Linked DNA regions of Homo sapiens: all the other regions are linked to region 1. The links are contacts of gene promoters, found by promoter capture Hi-C in blood cells and fetal thymus (Javierre and others, 2016). All regions are on one chromosome and are shown on one strand. The core of a region is centred on a gene start or on the middle of the fragment in contact, and the rest is flanking DNA. Distances in the headings are between cores, read along the strand shown. Region 1 holds the start of KCNIP2-AS1 (KCNIP2 antisense RNA 1). Region 2 has its middle 16 kb from the start of NOLC1. Region 3 has its middle 17 kb from the start of HPS6.

Region 1 (4,564 bases), core at 802-3,301:
CCTCCCAAATAGCTGGGATTACAGGCGCGCACCACCATGCCCAGCTATTGTTTGTAGTTTTAGTAGAGACGGAGTTTCAACATGATGGCCAGGCTATTCTTGAACTCCTGACTTTCTGCCCGCCTTGGCCTCTCAAAGTGCTGGGATTACAGGCGTGAGCCACTGAGCCCGGCTGATTCTGTCATTTTAATGCCTCGCTGGGCCTATTTATTTATTTTTAATTTTTAAAGATTTATTTATTTTTTAATTTTTTTTTTTTTAGAGGCAGGGTCTTGTTCTGTGGCTCAGGCTGGAGTGCAGTGGTGAGATCCTAGCACTACAGGTGCACACCACTACGCCTGGCTTTTTTTTTTTTTTTTTTTTTTTGTTTTTTTTTTGAGATGGAGTTTAGCTTTTGTTGCCCAGGTTGGAGTGCAATGGCACGATCTCGGCTCACGCAACCCGGGTTCAAGTGATTCTCCTGCCTCAGCCTCCCGAGTAGCTGGGATTACAGGCATCTGCCACCATGCCCAGCTAATTTTGTATTTTTAGTAGAAACGGGGTTTCTCCATGTTGGTCAGGCTGGTCTCGAACTCCCGACCTCAGGTGATCCATCTGCCTCGGCCTCCCAAAGTGCTGGGATTACAGGTGTGAGCCACCACGCCCGGCCTATTTTTATTTTTTTATAAAGACTGGGTCTGGCAATATTGCCCAGGCTGGTTGCAAACACCAACACTGCGCCCAGCCATCTGGGCCTGATAATTTAAAAGGACTCTCATTCCTCAGATAAAAGTTCTTTTCGGCCAGGTGAGGTGGCACGTGTCTGTAATCCCAGCACTTTGGGAGGCTGAGACTGGAGGATCACCTGAGCCCAAGAGTTTGAGACCAGCTTGGGCAAGATGTTGAGACCCCCGTCTCTACCAAAAATGAACAAATTAAAAGAGTGTGGTGGCGGGCACTCGCCTATAGTCCCAGCTACTCGGGATGGCTAAGGCGGGAAGATCCCTTGAGAGCCCAGGAATTCGATACTTAAGCTATGATTGCACTAGCCTGCGTGGCAAAATGAGACCTCTTCTCTTACAAAAAAAAAAAAAAAAAAAAAATTGTGTTCTCAACCCCAACGGACCACAATATCCAGTAAAGCTGCTATGGCCCCTAACTCTCAGCACAGGAGGTCCCTTAAGAAAATGCTTGTCCGGCCGGGCGCGGTGGCTCACACCTGTAATCCCAGCACTTTGGGAGGCCGAGGCAGGTGGATCACCTGAGGTCAGGAGTTCAAGACTAGCCTAGTCAACGTGGCGAAACCCCGTCTCTATTAAAAACACAAAATTAGCCGGGTGTGGTGGCGGGTGCCTGTAGTCTCAGCTACTCGAGAGGTTGAGGCAGGAGAATAGCCTGAGCCCAGGAGGTGAAGGCTGCAGTGAGCCGAGATTGCGCCACTGCGCTCCTGCGCTCCAGCCTGGGCGACAGAGTGAAACTCTGTCTCAAAAAAAAAAAAAAAGTTTGCTCCTAACCCCCATCTCAACAATCCAGGACTGAAAAGAAGAGGGACCATGAAAGTCCCTGAAACTACAAGTTGGGCTACGGCTAAAGAAGGTAAATATCAGACTGAAGTGTAAGATGGACATTACTAAGTCTTAATCATCATTTCATGTTTATACCTCACAGGTTGAGATAGATTTCTCAAGCATCATAAATGTAAAGTGCATTAGGGTAGGTCTACAAGAGAGCTCTGAGAACATACAGCAAGGAGACCCAAACCCATCTAGGGCTCAGGGAAGGCTTCCCAAGGAAGCGATGCCCATGCCGAGGCCGAAGGGATCTCATGCCCCACTGCACACACCGCGCGCTCCCCATTCCCAAACAAGGCAGGCTTTTCATGCCTCCCTACCTTTGGACTCTGTTGTTCGTTCCACTTTCCTGGAGTGCTGTCTTCCCTCCCCTTCTGCTCAGTCAGGCTAACTTCACATCCTTTATAATCCAGCTGAAAAGTGAAGCCATGCCCACGGCCTCTCCCCAAAGGAGGAGTGAGTATCACCTGTTCTGAGCTCCGAAGTTCTTGGGGACACCTTGTGGGAACTGCGTGTGTGGTGGCTTGTCTCCACCACCGTACTGTGAGCTCATAGTGTTCTAGAGCCCAGCACGAGGCAAGCTCTATAGATGTCTACTGAATGAAGGAATGAACGAATGATTACATTTTAAATGGGATTAGGGGAAAATGATTCAAGGCAGAGGGGTGAGCTGAGCTCCTTGGAATGGTGTCTTTACCGAACCAAGCCTGGGTTAGGCAGATGTAATGAGCCCACCTATTACAAGAATCTCCATAGAAAGTAGGTCAGTTCTTTCCTATCTCTTTAAGAACGAGAGGCCGCGGCTCCGCGCCTGCGCACTGAGAGAATAAACACCTCTCCTTTTCACCTTCCCCCCTTCTCCCTATTGCCCCAACCGGCGGCAGCCTCCTCCCATACTCCCCTCCTTCGGGGCGGGTAATGGTCCGTCCGTCCCAGGGTGCCAGGCTTGTTTCGGAGGGTGGCAAGCAGAAATGGTACATTCCACTGCCTTCATTACCTTCTGCTTTTCGCGTCTCCTGTTCTATTTCCCCCTACCTAAAGAAGCTTAATAGGCTAGCCCCAAAGAAGGCGGGGGAGCCGGGCGGAGGGGACCGGTCTGAGCCGGTCTGCAGCGCAAGCGCAGTGCGGATAAACAGGAAGCGGGCGGTGGAGGCAGCAGCAGAGGGAGAGCTCGGGGCTTGGAGGGGAAACAGCGGAAGACCTAAGATTATCGGGAGGGCAGCAGAGGCAGAGAACGAGGACAGGACCCTTGGCCGTCTTCTTCCAGGGAACGAGAGGTCACAGCCTCGCTCTCCGCTTAGGCTTCTGGCGCCCCAGCTTAAAGCCGAGGCTGCGGCTGACAAAGGGCTCGCGCCGGTGCCGCCGCCCTTCTCATCCGGGCATTCGGGTCCCTGCGGAGAGGGAGGGGGAAGGGCAGAGGGGGAGGGGAAGGAGCCGGAGGGGCGCACACTTGGAGCTGAAGCCCTCTCCAGGGCTCCGGGCCGGTGCCCCAACGGACAGAGGTCGAGGAGGACCCGCAGAGGTGGCAGCGGCCGGGGGCAGGAGGATGGTGCAGAAGGAGAGTCAAGCGACGTTGGAGGAGCGGGAGAGCGAGCTCAGCTCCAACCCTGCCGCCTCTGCGGGGGCATCGCTGGAGCCGCCGGCAGCTCCGGCACCCGGAGAAGACAACCCCGCCGGGGCTGGGGGAGCGGCGGTGGCCGGGGCTGCAGGAGGGGCTCGGCGGTTCCTCTGCGGTGTGGTGGAAGGTGAGCGCCCTCCTTCCCTCCCCGTTTTGGCACTAACACGTTCTGTCCTCGGGAGGAGGGTGGTGGCGGGGATTTTGGAGACTCTAAAAGGCCGGAAAGCCTCTGGGTCTGAAATGTGGCCCTCCTAAAGCGAGGGGAGAGACGAGATGTTGGGCGAATCTCCTTGCACGTCTTAAGACGGCGTCGAATTCCCCCCTGGCCACTCACAAGTCTGACCCCACCCGTCTTGGGCTTGGAGCCAGGCCACCTCCTAAGGAGGCGGTGGTTAAGAGCCTGGTGTTCTGTTAGCCTCTGAGTTCTACTTCTTTGTACCTTGGGATCTTATTCCCTAGGGTTGTCTGGTTCCAGTGAAAAAATATGTGTAGTGCTTCTGTCACCACCCTTTGTGGAAAATCGGCCCACACTGACGTGCTTGTACTTCTGGAGTGAAGAGAAGCACGTTTGGCCTATAGTATTTCAAGTTCCACTTGGCTTAGAATATTTTTGTTGCTTCCCCCCACCCCCGCAAAGATTCATTTGCAACTTAGAAAATTGCCCTCTTTCCCAGCTACTGTACTTTGCTCTCGAGGGATGAAACTTTGGCTTTAATCACAGATTCTCGAAGTATCTGAGATGCGTAATTGGAATTTAGTGACCGCAGAAGCGGCTTTAAAAATGCCCTTCTCGCCTTTTTTCCCATTTACAGTCGAAAAGAACGATGGACTTTTTGGTAGTGAGGGAAAATTACCAGATGCTTGTTTCAGTTTCTGGATGAGAATGGACAGATAGTCCACCTTGCAGCTCTGTAGAGGCACGAATCGGTTACATTATTAGTCTTTCCGCAGTTACAGCATGTATTTGAATTTTCTGAAGTATTTTGGCCGATTCAGAGTTTCCTAGATGTCTGTTTTATATCTCTCTCGTATGTAATGGCGTGGATAAGGGTAAAAAATATATATATTTAAAAAACCAAAAAGGTATGGAAAAAGGATTGCTCTCGACGTTGAGAACATCAGCTTTTCTGTTTTTTTTCACCATATAAATTAGAGTATTCTTTCGAAAAATGGGTGGTGGTTATGGTACAGACCATAACAGGCTACTTTGCTGCTACAGTAAGGCATGAAAGAGTTCAGCGAAGTTAACTGTCTTGCAGAATTTGGGGGATTACAGAATGGAAAACTGCTATATAGTATTCATCAAAAATGATTGCATTGTGTGACTTATATCGTTGTATTTATTGGCTTGAGTGCAGGGAGATTTTAGAAAAAGAATCTGGTTTTTGTTATCAAA
Region 2 (4,564 bases), core at 913-3,412, 350 kb before region 1:
ATATTTTTGTCCCTCACTAGTCGGACAAACTTTTTGTCTTTTTTGAGTAAACAAAACTTTTTTTGAGTAAACTTTGATTGCTGGAACTGTGTTTTTTGTTCATTCAGGATTGTATCTGCAACAGCTACCACACAGGATCACATGTCATGTACCTGGCGCATGGCAGCCACTCATATTTTCTGAATGGATGAATTTTTGCTGAATGGATAAATTTCTGTTTGGCAGGCTAATTTCTTGAAATACTCTGTACTTCCTCTGCCACTTGGAAGTATCCACTTCCAAGGCGGAAGCCTGGCATTTGTTCTCCTCAATCCTGAGCTCCTTGAGATTATGCTGGGAGAGGAGGGAAGAGAGAGGAGAGAGGAGAAGGCATCAAAGCCTCTGAGCTCCCAGACCTAGGAAGAACACAGGCCCGCAATTTCCATCAGCAGTGGGATCTGCAGCCGGTCACCCTTGCAGGAGCCCGAAGGCCCTGCCAGGACCTGGAGGTAGGGTTGGGGTTCCACGGGGAACATTAATCTTCTACAAGCCATGTTGCCTGCCACTGGCTTTCAGGTATCAGGTAACCTCTCATGGATAACCAGTACAGACCAGAGACCAGAAAACCTCCCTTCTCGGCCGGGCGCGGTGCCTCACGCCTGTAATCCCAGCACTTTGGGAGACCGAGGCGGGCAGATCATGAGGTCAGGAGATGGAGAGCACGGTGAAACCCCGTCTCTACTAAAAAATACAAAAAAATTAGCTGGGCGCCGTAGCGGGCGCCTGTAGTCCCAGCTACTCGGGAGGCTGAGGCAGGAGAATGGCGTGAACCCAGGAGGCAGAGCTTGCAGTGAGCCGAGATGGCACCACAGCACTCCAGCCTGGGCGACAGAGCGAGACTCTGTCTCAAAACAAACAAACAAACAAACAAACAAAAAACCCCTTCTCTAATTTCCAAAACTAAAGAGCCTCAGATGAGGGCCTGTGTCTTATTCATCTGTGTATCCAAAGGCTCACAGTGGGCTCTTCAAGGTGTTTTTTTTTTTTTTTGAGACGGAGTCTCGCTCTGTCGCCCAGGCTGGAGTGCAGTGGCGCTATCTCGGCTCACTGCAAGCTCCGCCTCCCGGGCTCACGCCATTCTCCTGCCTCAGCCTCCCGAGTAGCTGGGACTATATAGGCGCCCGCCACGGCGCCCCGCTAATTTTTTGTATTTTTAGTAGAGACGGGGTTTCACTGTGTTAACCAGGTTGGTCTCGATCGGCTGACCTCGTGATCCGCCCGCCTCCGCCTCCCAAAGTGCTGGGATTACAGGCGTGAGCCACTGCGCCCGGCTCTTCAAGTTTGTTGAATAGCACTGGAGTAAGTAAGGAGTTAAGCTTCTATTTAAGTCCAGCCCAGCTCCCTAAACAGGGGGGCAACATCGCCACCTACTGGCCCCATCGGTAACTGCAGACAGGCTCTGCAGGAGGGATTTGAGAACTTCGTGGTCCGGCAGAAATAGTGCTTTCACCGCAACCGGATTAGTGCCAGGAGTATTGTATTAGACTATCAAATCTCCTAACATACTCAGGTGGACAAAATAAAGTACTAATTCCTAACTTAGGTACAAAAGGCCATTGACATTGAACTCTCAGTGAAATTTCGCAGTATCTTGCCCCCACCTCCCGCACACCTCTGCTTGACCCATTCTAACAGCCCTCTTCTCCCACTGGAAAAGGCACTCTTCCTTACACGGTATGCACTTTTCTCGCTCCTGGCAAACTGCAGCTGTCTTCAGAATCCTAGGCCACCATCAGCCAAGTCTTTTCTTCTTCTTCTTCTTCTTTTTTTTTTTTTTTTTTTTTGAGACAGAGTTTCACTTTGTTGCCCAGGCTGGAGTGCAGTGGCACGATCTTGGCTCACTGCAACCTCCGCCTTCCGGTTTCAAGCGATTCTCCTGTCTCAGTTTCCTGAGTAGCTGGGATTACAGGCGCCTGCCACCACACCTGGCTAATTTTTTGTATTTTTAGTAGAGACGAGGTTTCACTATGTTGACCAGGCTGGTCTCGAACTCCTGACCTCGTGATCTGCCTGCCTCGGCCTCCCAAAGTGCTGGGATTACAGGTGTGAGCCACCACACCGGGCCAAGCCAAGTATTTTCTTGCTTGTACCCTTAGGGGTGCTACTCTGACCTTCAGTTTGGGACAGAACTCAGCTCAGTGCACAGAAACCATTCCCATGCCTGACTTTCCCCATTAGACACTGAGCTCTCTGGGAGTTCTATGACGAGTACATAGCAGGTTCACAAAGACTATTGAATACAGGTAGCTCCATGTTTGGACATACAGAGACCTGTGTTCTTGTCTCAATGTGCCACTAAGTTGCAGTTTCATCAACCCTAAGTAAATCATTTGATACTCAGGGCTGTTTCCGTAGTGGTTTTCAACTAGGGGCAATTTTCCTTCCCAGAAAATATTTGGCAATGCCTGGAGCCGTTTTTGGTTGTCACAACTAGGGGAAACTATTGGCATGCAGTGTTAGAGGCCAGGGACGCTGCCACACATCCTACAACACACAGGACAGTCCTCAAAAGCAAAGACTTACCTGGCCCCAAATGGAATGATCTACTCGATACCCACCTAACAGGGTTGCAGTAAGGCTACACCGGGCGAAGGGCAAGCCCCCAACAGGGCATTAGGAAGTCTCCTGCCTGTGTCCATGAAGCATGATGCAGAGGGGCATGAGCCATGTGTCTGGTTGACTGAATTTGCGGATTTCAGTGCCAGAGCCCATCAGCAAGGGGTAGGAATTCCAGATTCTTCACAAAACTAAGAAGTTTCTAATAGGACCAATTCCACATATCCATTTTTGTATCAGGAATAAAGATGATAAACGTGAAACAACAAAAAACCATTGCAGGGAAATAATCATTAACATATGCTTGATGCCTTTGCCAAAATGGCATGTTGCACATCACAAGGAAACCAAAGAACATCATTTCCAAAGCTTTTTTTGTTGAGCAAGAGGCAGTTATGGAGTGCTTATAATATGCCAGGGACTGTACTAAGTGCTTTAAATTCTCAGTCCTTACAACAAGCCTCTGAGAGAGTCAAGAATCTACAAATGAGTTGAGATAGTATTCTCTCTTTTTTTGAGACAGAGCCTTGCTCTGTCACCCAGCCTGGAGTGCAGTGGTGCGATCTCAGCTCACTGCAAGTAGCCAGGATAGTCTCGATCTCCTGACCTCGTGATCCACCCGCCTTGGACTCCCAAAGTGCTGGGATTACAGGCCCAGCCAGTATTCTCATTTTACATCAGAAGGTACACTCTGGGCTGGGCACAGTGGCTCACGCCTGTAATCCCAGCACTTTGGGAGGCTGAGGTGGGAGGATTGTTTGAGAGTAGCCTGGGCAACACAGGGAGACCCTGTCTCTACAAAACAAAATTAAAAACAAAAACAAAAACAAAACAAACAAAAAAACAACTAGCCAAGCCTAGTGACTACTGTAGTCCCAGCTACTCAGGAGGCTGAGGTGGGAGGATCTCAGCTACTCAGGGGGCTGAGATCAGAGTATCTGCTTGAGCCCCAGAGGCTGAGGCTGCAGTGAGCGGTGATCGTAATCGCACCACTGCACTCCAGCCTGTGCAACAGAGCAAGACCCTGTCTCAAAAACAAACAAACAAACAAACAAACGCAGACTCAGGTTAACCTTCCTAATGAATACTGTTAGGCAATTTGCTAAACCGCCTCATTTGTGTAACACACTAGCTGCAAAACGTAGCAGACTCAGCTTTGCAAGGCCTAAGAGGAAATGAGTTCTGTCGGAAAAAAGCAAACAAGACTGAGAAGGGTTATACAATACAGAAGAAAAGTCATGATTTAAACAATAAACAGCAACCTCACAAATTATTTATGTTTTAAGGAGAATAAATTAATGGATGTATGTCATATTCAACTTAAAAATGAAAACGGGCTGGGCGCGGTGGCTCCCGTCTGTAATCCCAACACTTGTGGGAGGCCAAGGCAGGCAGATAGCTTGAGCTCAGTTCGAGACCAGCCTGGGCAACATGACAAAACCCTGTCTACAAAAAACACAAAAATTAGCCAAGTGTGGTGGCACATACCTGTGGTCCCAGCTATTCGGAAGGCTAAGATGAGAGGATTGCTTGAGCCTGGGAGGTGGAGGTTGTAGTGAGCCAAGTTTGCACCACTGTACTCCAGCCTGGGTGACAGAGCAAGACCCTGTCTCAAAATAAATAAAATAAAAATGCCAAGGCCAGGCGTGGTAGCTCACACCTGTAATCCCAGCACTTTGGGAGGCCGAGGTGGGCAGATCACGAGGTCAGGAGTTCAAGACCAGCCTGGCCAAGATGGTGAAATCCCGTCTCTACTAAAAATACAAAAATTAGCCAGGCATGGTGGCAGGTGCCTATAATCCCAGCTACTCAGGAGGCTGAGGCAGAGAATTGCTTGAACCTGGGAGGCGGATGTTGCAGTAAGCTGAGATCACGCCACTGCACTCCAGTCTGGGCGAAAGTGGTATAGACGTACAATGGAATATCATGCAGTCTTAAAAAGGAAGGGAATCCTGTCACCTGCTATAAC
Region 3 (4,564 bases), core at 1,540-4,039, 260 kb before region 1:
ATCCCAGCACTTTGGGAGGCCAAGGCCGGCTTATCACCTGAGCTCAGGAGTTTGAGACCAGGTGGGCTAACATGGTAAAACCCCGTTTCTACTAAAAATACAAAAAATTAGCCAGGCGTGGTGGCATGCACCTGTAATCCCAGCTACACGGGAGGCTGAGGCAGGAGAATTGCTTGAACCTGGGAGGTGGAGGTTGCAGTGAGCCAAGATCACGCCATTGTACTCCAGCTTGGGCAACAAGAGCGAAACTCCATCTCAAAAAAAAAAAAAAAAAAGTTGGGATTGTAAGTAAAACAACTTGCAAAACATTTTCTGAAATAGAATTTAAAACAATTATCTTTTTTTTTTTTTTTTTTGAGACAGAGTCTCGCTCTGTCGCCCAGGCTGGAGTGCCGTGGCGCAATCTCGGCTCACTGCAAGCTCTGCCTCCCGAGTTCATGCCATTCTCCTGCCTCAGCCTCCTGAGTAGCTGGGACTACAGGCACCCGCCACTATGCCTGGCTAATTTTTGTATTTTTTTAGTAGAGACGGGGTTTCACTGCATTAGCCAAGATGGTCTCGATCTCCTGACCTCGTGATCCGCCCGCCTCAGCCTCCCAAAGTGCTGGGATTACAGGTGTGAGCCACCTGGCCTTTTTTTTTTTTTTTTTTTCGAGACAGGGACTCACTCTGTCACTCAGGCTGGAGTGTAATGGCACCATCTTGGCTCACTGTAGCCTCGACCTCCTGGGCTCAGATGATCCTCCCACCTCATCCTCCCGAGTAGCTGGGACTACAGGTGCACACCACCACAACTGCCGAAATTTTGTAATTTTTGTTCAGATAGGGTTTTGCCATGTTGCCCAGGCTGGTCTTGAACTCCTGGGCTCAAGTGATCTGCCCACTTTCACCTCCCAAAGTGCTAAGATGACAGGTGTGAGCCACCACACCTAGCCACAAAATATTATCTTTACTCATGAGTTGGAAACTGGAAAAAGGCTACTTGAAACAATTGATGTGAGTGGGGTTACTAGGATATCTTCCAGCCTCCTAGAGTCAAGGGGTATTACTGATATTGATTAACCTGTATGTAGCAGGGCTTTCCTTAACTGCATCTGAGGACTTTAAAAAAAAATCCTCTTAGCTTTGAGTATATTGCTGAGAGACTCAGTTACTACACAGTTTGTGGGTTTTTTTGGAGAAATGGACTTGGAAAATTTGTTAGCTTTTCAATTAAAAAAGACACCCCACCCCCACCAAAAAAAAAAAAAAAAAAAAAAAAAAAAAAGCCGCGTGTGGTCACCCATGCCTATAATCCCAGCACTTTGGGAGGCTGAGGTGGAAGGATCATTTGAAGCCAGATGTTTGAGAGCAGCCTGGGCAACATGATAAGATCCTGTTTCTACACAAAATAAAAATTAGCTTGGCATAGTGGCAAGTGCTTATAGTCCCAGCTACTTGGGAGGCTGAAGCAGGAGAATTGCTTGAGCCTAGGAGTTCGAGGTTGCAATGAGCTATCATCACACCACTGCACCATAGCCTAGGTGACAGAGCAAGACCCTGTCTCTAAAATAACTAACTAAAATAAAAATAAAGAGACTGATTTTAGCAACCCCTAAAAATCCTATTAGTGTCTCCAACTGATATGTAAAGAACTTATAAGCTTACAAATAATTTTCTCCACATTTATTCTCTCTTTTAATCCTTAAGACTGTCCTGTAAAATACTATTCTTATCTTTCATTTTTTGTGGCTGAGGAAATTGAAGCTCAGGTGTCACTGAACCAAACTGGGTTCATTTGCCCACGTGCAATGGAAAGCCAAACACCAAAGCATCAAGTTTTTGCAGTGAGAAAAGTTAATTGCAAGTCAACTGGAAAGGAGACAGGAGGAAACTCTCAAATCTGTCTCCCTGAGCTGGGGGATGGGTCAGGTTTTATAAACATAGGATAAGAAGGTGAGAACTGATTGGATCTTTTGATGAGGAGATGCCAGGAGGCAGGATCTGACTGGATCCTGCCATGGGGTGATGCCAGGGCTCCATCTTACTGAATCTTGGATCCCGCCATGGTGTCCACCTCTTAATTCAGTCCCTGCTCCTTGATCTGAGCACTTAGGTTCCATCATTGGCTGCATGCTTGGATCATCTGGTCATGCTCAGTTTACATGATCTTCAACCTGGGGTCCGTGGCAACTGAAAAACAACTCGCAACTTTGTTACATAAAAGTTGGACCAGGCTAGGTGCAGTGGGAGTGGTGGCTCCCGCCTGTAATCTCAGAACTTTGGGAGGCCAAGGCAAATGGATTGCTTGAGCCCAGGAGTTCCAGACTAGCCTGGGCAACATGGCGAAACCCTGTCTCTACAAAAACTGGCCAGGTATGGTGGTGTGCATCTGTAGTCCCAGCTACTTGGGGGGCTGAGGCAGGAGGATCGCCTGAGATGAGAAAGTCGAGGCTGCAGTGAGCAGTGATCGAGCCACTGCACTCCAGCCTGGGCGACAAGTGAGATCCTGTCTCATAAAAAATAAAGTTGGCCAGGCGCAGTGGCTCATGCTTGTAATCCCAGCACTTTGGGAGGCCGAGGCGGGTGGATCATGAGGTCAGGAGATCGAGACCATCCTGGCTAATATGGTGAAACCCCATCTCTACTAAAAAATACAAAAAATTAGCTGGGCGTGGTGGCGGGCACCTGTAGTCCCAGCTACTTGGGAGGCTGAGGCAGGAGAATGGCATGAACCTGGGAGGCAGAGGTTGCAGCGAGTGGAGATCATGCCACTGCACTCCAGCCTGGGCGACAGCAAGACTCCATCTCAAAAAATAAATAAATAAATAAAAATAAAAATTAATTAATTAATTAAGTTGGACGAGATTGGTCTGATGTGGTTATACAGAGAGGTTAAGAAAATTACCTAAGGTTACACAGCCAATAGGTGGTGAAGGAGGGATTAAATTCTCATGAATTCTTATCCAGTGAGCCTCTAGGTACACTACTAACAGTTCAGAATGCAATCCAAACAGGTCAGCAGCATGCAGAAATGCCCCAGGCCTGAGTGGGCAGCTGAGCTTCCTTCAAGAAGCAAAGACAGTCATAAAATGGAAGGATATAATTTTACATACACCTCCTTTGCTTTCTAACTTGTAAAGCTCTCGGTCCTTTGGTCACACATCTGCTTTCCCCAAGTCCAAAGTTAAAATTATGCAGCTAGGCTGGGCACAGTGGCTCATGCCTATAATCCCAGCACTTTGGGAGGCCAAGGCGGGTGGATCACCTAAGGTCAGGAGTTCGAGACCAGCCTGACCAATATGGAGAAACCCCGTCTCTACTGAAAATACAAAATTAGCTGGGCGTGGTGGCACATGCCTGTAATCCCAGCTACTCAGGAGGCTGAGGCAGGAGTCTTGCTTGAACCAGGAAGCGGAGGTTGCAGTGAGCCGAGATCGTGCCATTGCACTCCAGCCTGGGCAACAAGAGTGAAACTCTGTCTCAAAAAAAACAAAAAAAAAATTTTGCAGCTATGGCAGTCCAGCCATGGCTGGGGTCCTACTCTGCAGCTGAGAGGAGTCCATGGGGAAAGGTTCTGGCCTTAAGCCTGCAGACCCATCTTCTTTCTAGTCCCAGCTCTCTCATCTGCTAGCCAAGGAGCCAGTGTGCTGTTTGTAGCTTAGTTTTCTCATCTGTAATCTGAGCATCATAACCCCTGCCCTGTGGGCTTCAGGGATAGGAGGATCAGATGAAGTGACTGACAGGGAGGTGCTTTGAGGTATGAAATGCTCTTCAGTGTGTTAGTGGGGAGGATGGAAGTTATCCAAAGAGTCTCCAGGATTGTGGCTCCAGCTTGGCCTGGCAGAGCAGTGCCTCCTTGGGCTGGGGTCAAAGCCAAGTCATCTTTCCACTGTCAATGCCAGGATCTATATTCCATTTATTGTTCTTGACTCCTTTCCTAGCAACCAAAGCTTTGAAAAGGTTCTGCAGAGCATCAGGGACCTTGCCCTTCAGCTCACTATGGAGAGGGACCAGCTGGACCAAGAGCTTCAGACACAGGGCAGCAACATCCAGGCTACCCTGGGCAAGTAAGGGAGCTCGGCCAGGAACTGCAAATTCACAGCCTAAAGCTCAACCTCAGTCTGAGCCTGGTGAAGCCTCTCCTGAGACTCTCAGCCTTTCCCTGGCATCCTGAGTCTGACCCACAAAAGACAGCCTTTACCCAAGATATAATATCCATCCCTCCTTAGGGAGCTGCAGTTATGAGGGAGACCTCACTCTTGTACAGTAGATGCATTTATTTGGGCTGCTATAACAAATTACCACACACTTGGTTTATAGCAACAGAAATTTTCTCACAGTTCTGGAGGCCAGAAGTCCCAAACCAAGGTGTCAGTAGTGCAGGTTTGTTCGGGAGGCTCCAGGAGAGAATCTGCCTCATGCCACTTTCCCAGCTTCTGGTGGCTGTCAGCAATTCTTGGTGTTTTTGGCTTGTAGACCCATCGCTCCAGTCTCTGTCTCTGCCTCTGCCTTCACATGGCTTTCTCCTTCTGTGTCTTTGTGTTTTCTTCTTTTCTGTCTTATTAGAAATATTCATTATTGG

Evidence for each region. The method cuts DNA at HindIII sites, captures the fragments that hold promoters and counts their contacts. A CHiCAGO score of 5 or more calls a contact.
Region 2: a contact is called between a fragment that was not itself captured here and the fragment with the promoter of KCNIP2-AS1 in region 1, in 4 of 17 cell types (total B cells, erythroblasts, total CD8 T cells and 1 more). The highest score is 6.3, in total B cells.
Region 3: a fragment that was not itself captured here is called in contact with the fragment with the promoter of KCNIP2-AS1 in region 1 in 4 of 17 cell types (endothelial precursors, neutrophils, erythroblasts and 1 more); the score reaches 7.0 in endothelial precursors.

The regions. Positions count from the first base shown.
Region 1 is chr10:101,816,555-101,821,118 of GRCh38, reverse strand. It overlaps KCNIP2-AS1 (KCNIP2 antisense RNA 1), which reads right to left and starts at 2,051. Exons shown (of 3, transcript NR_045118.1): 1 at 1,871-2,051. OGA (O-GlcNAcase) reads left to right here and starts at 2,675. Exons shown (of 16, transcript NM_012215.5): 1 at 2,675-3,295. The coding sequence starts at 3,097. RefSeq lists enhancers at 2,646-2,765, 2,567-3,142 and silencers at 2,916-2,975, 3,056-3,115. The HindIII fragment of the contact is 3,022 bases long and covers 1-2,596 here.
Region 2 is chr10:102,166,443-102,171,006 of GRCh38, reverse strand. No RefSeq gene overlaps it. Among named protein-coding and RNA genes, the nearest start is that of NOLC1, 16 kb to the right of the region's middle. The HindIII fragment of the contact is 1,609 bases long and covers 1,358-2,966 here.
Region 3 is chr10:102,080,531-102,085,094 of GRCh38, reverse strand. No RefSeq gene overlaps it. Among named protein-coding and RNA genes, the nearest start is that of HPS6, 17 kb to the right of the region's middle. The HindIII fragment of the contact is 2,290 bases long and covers 1,645-3,934 here.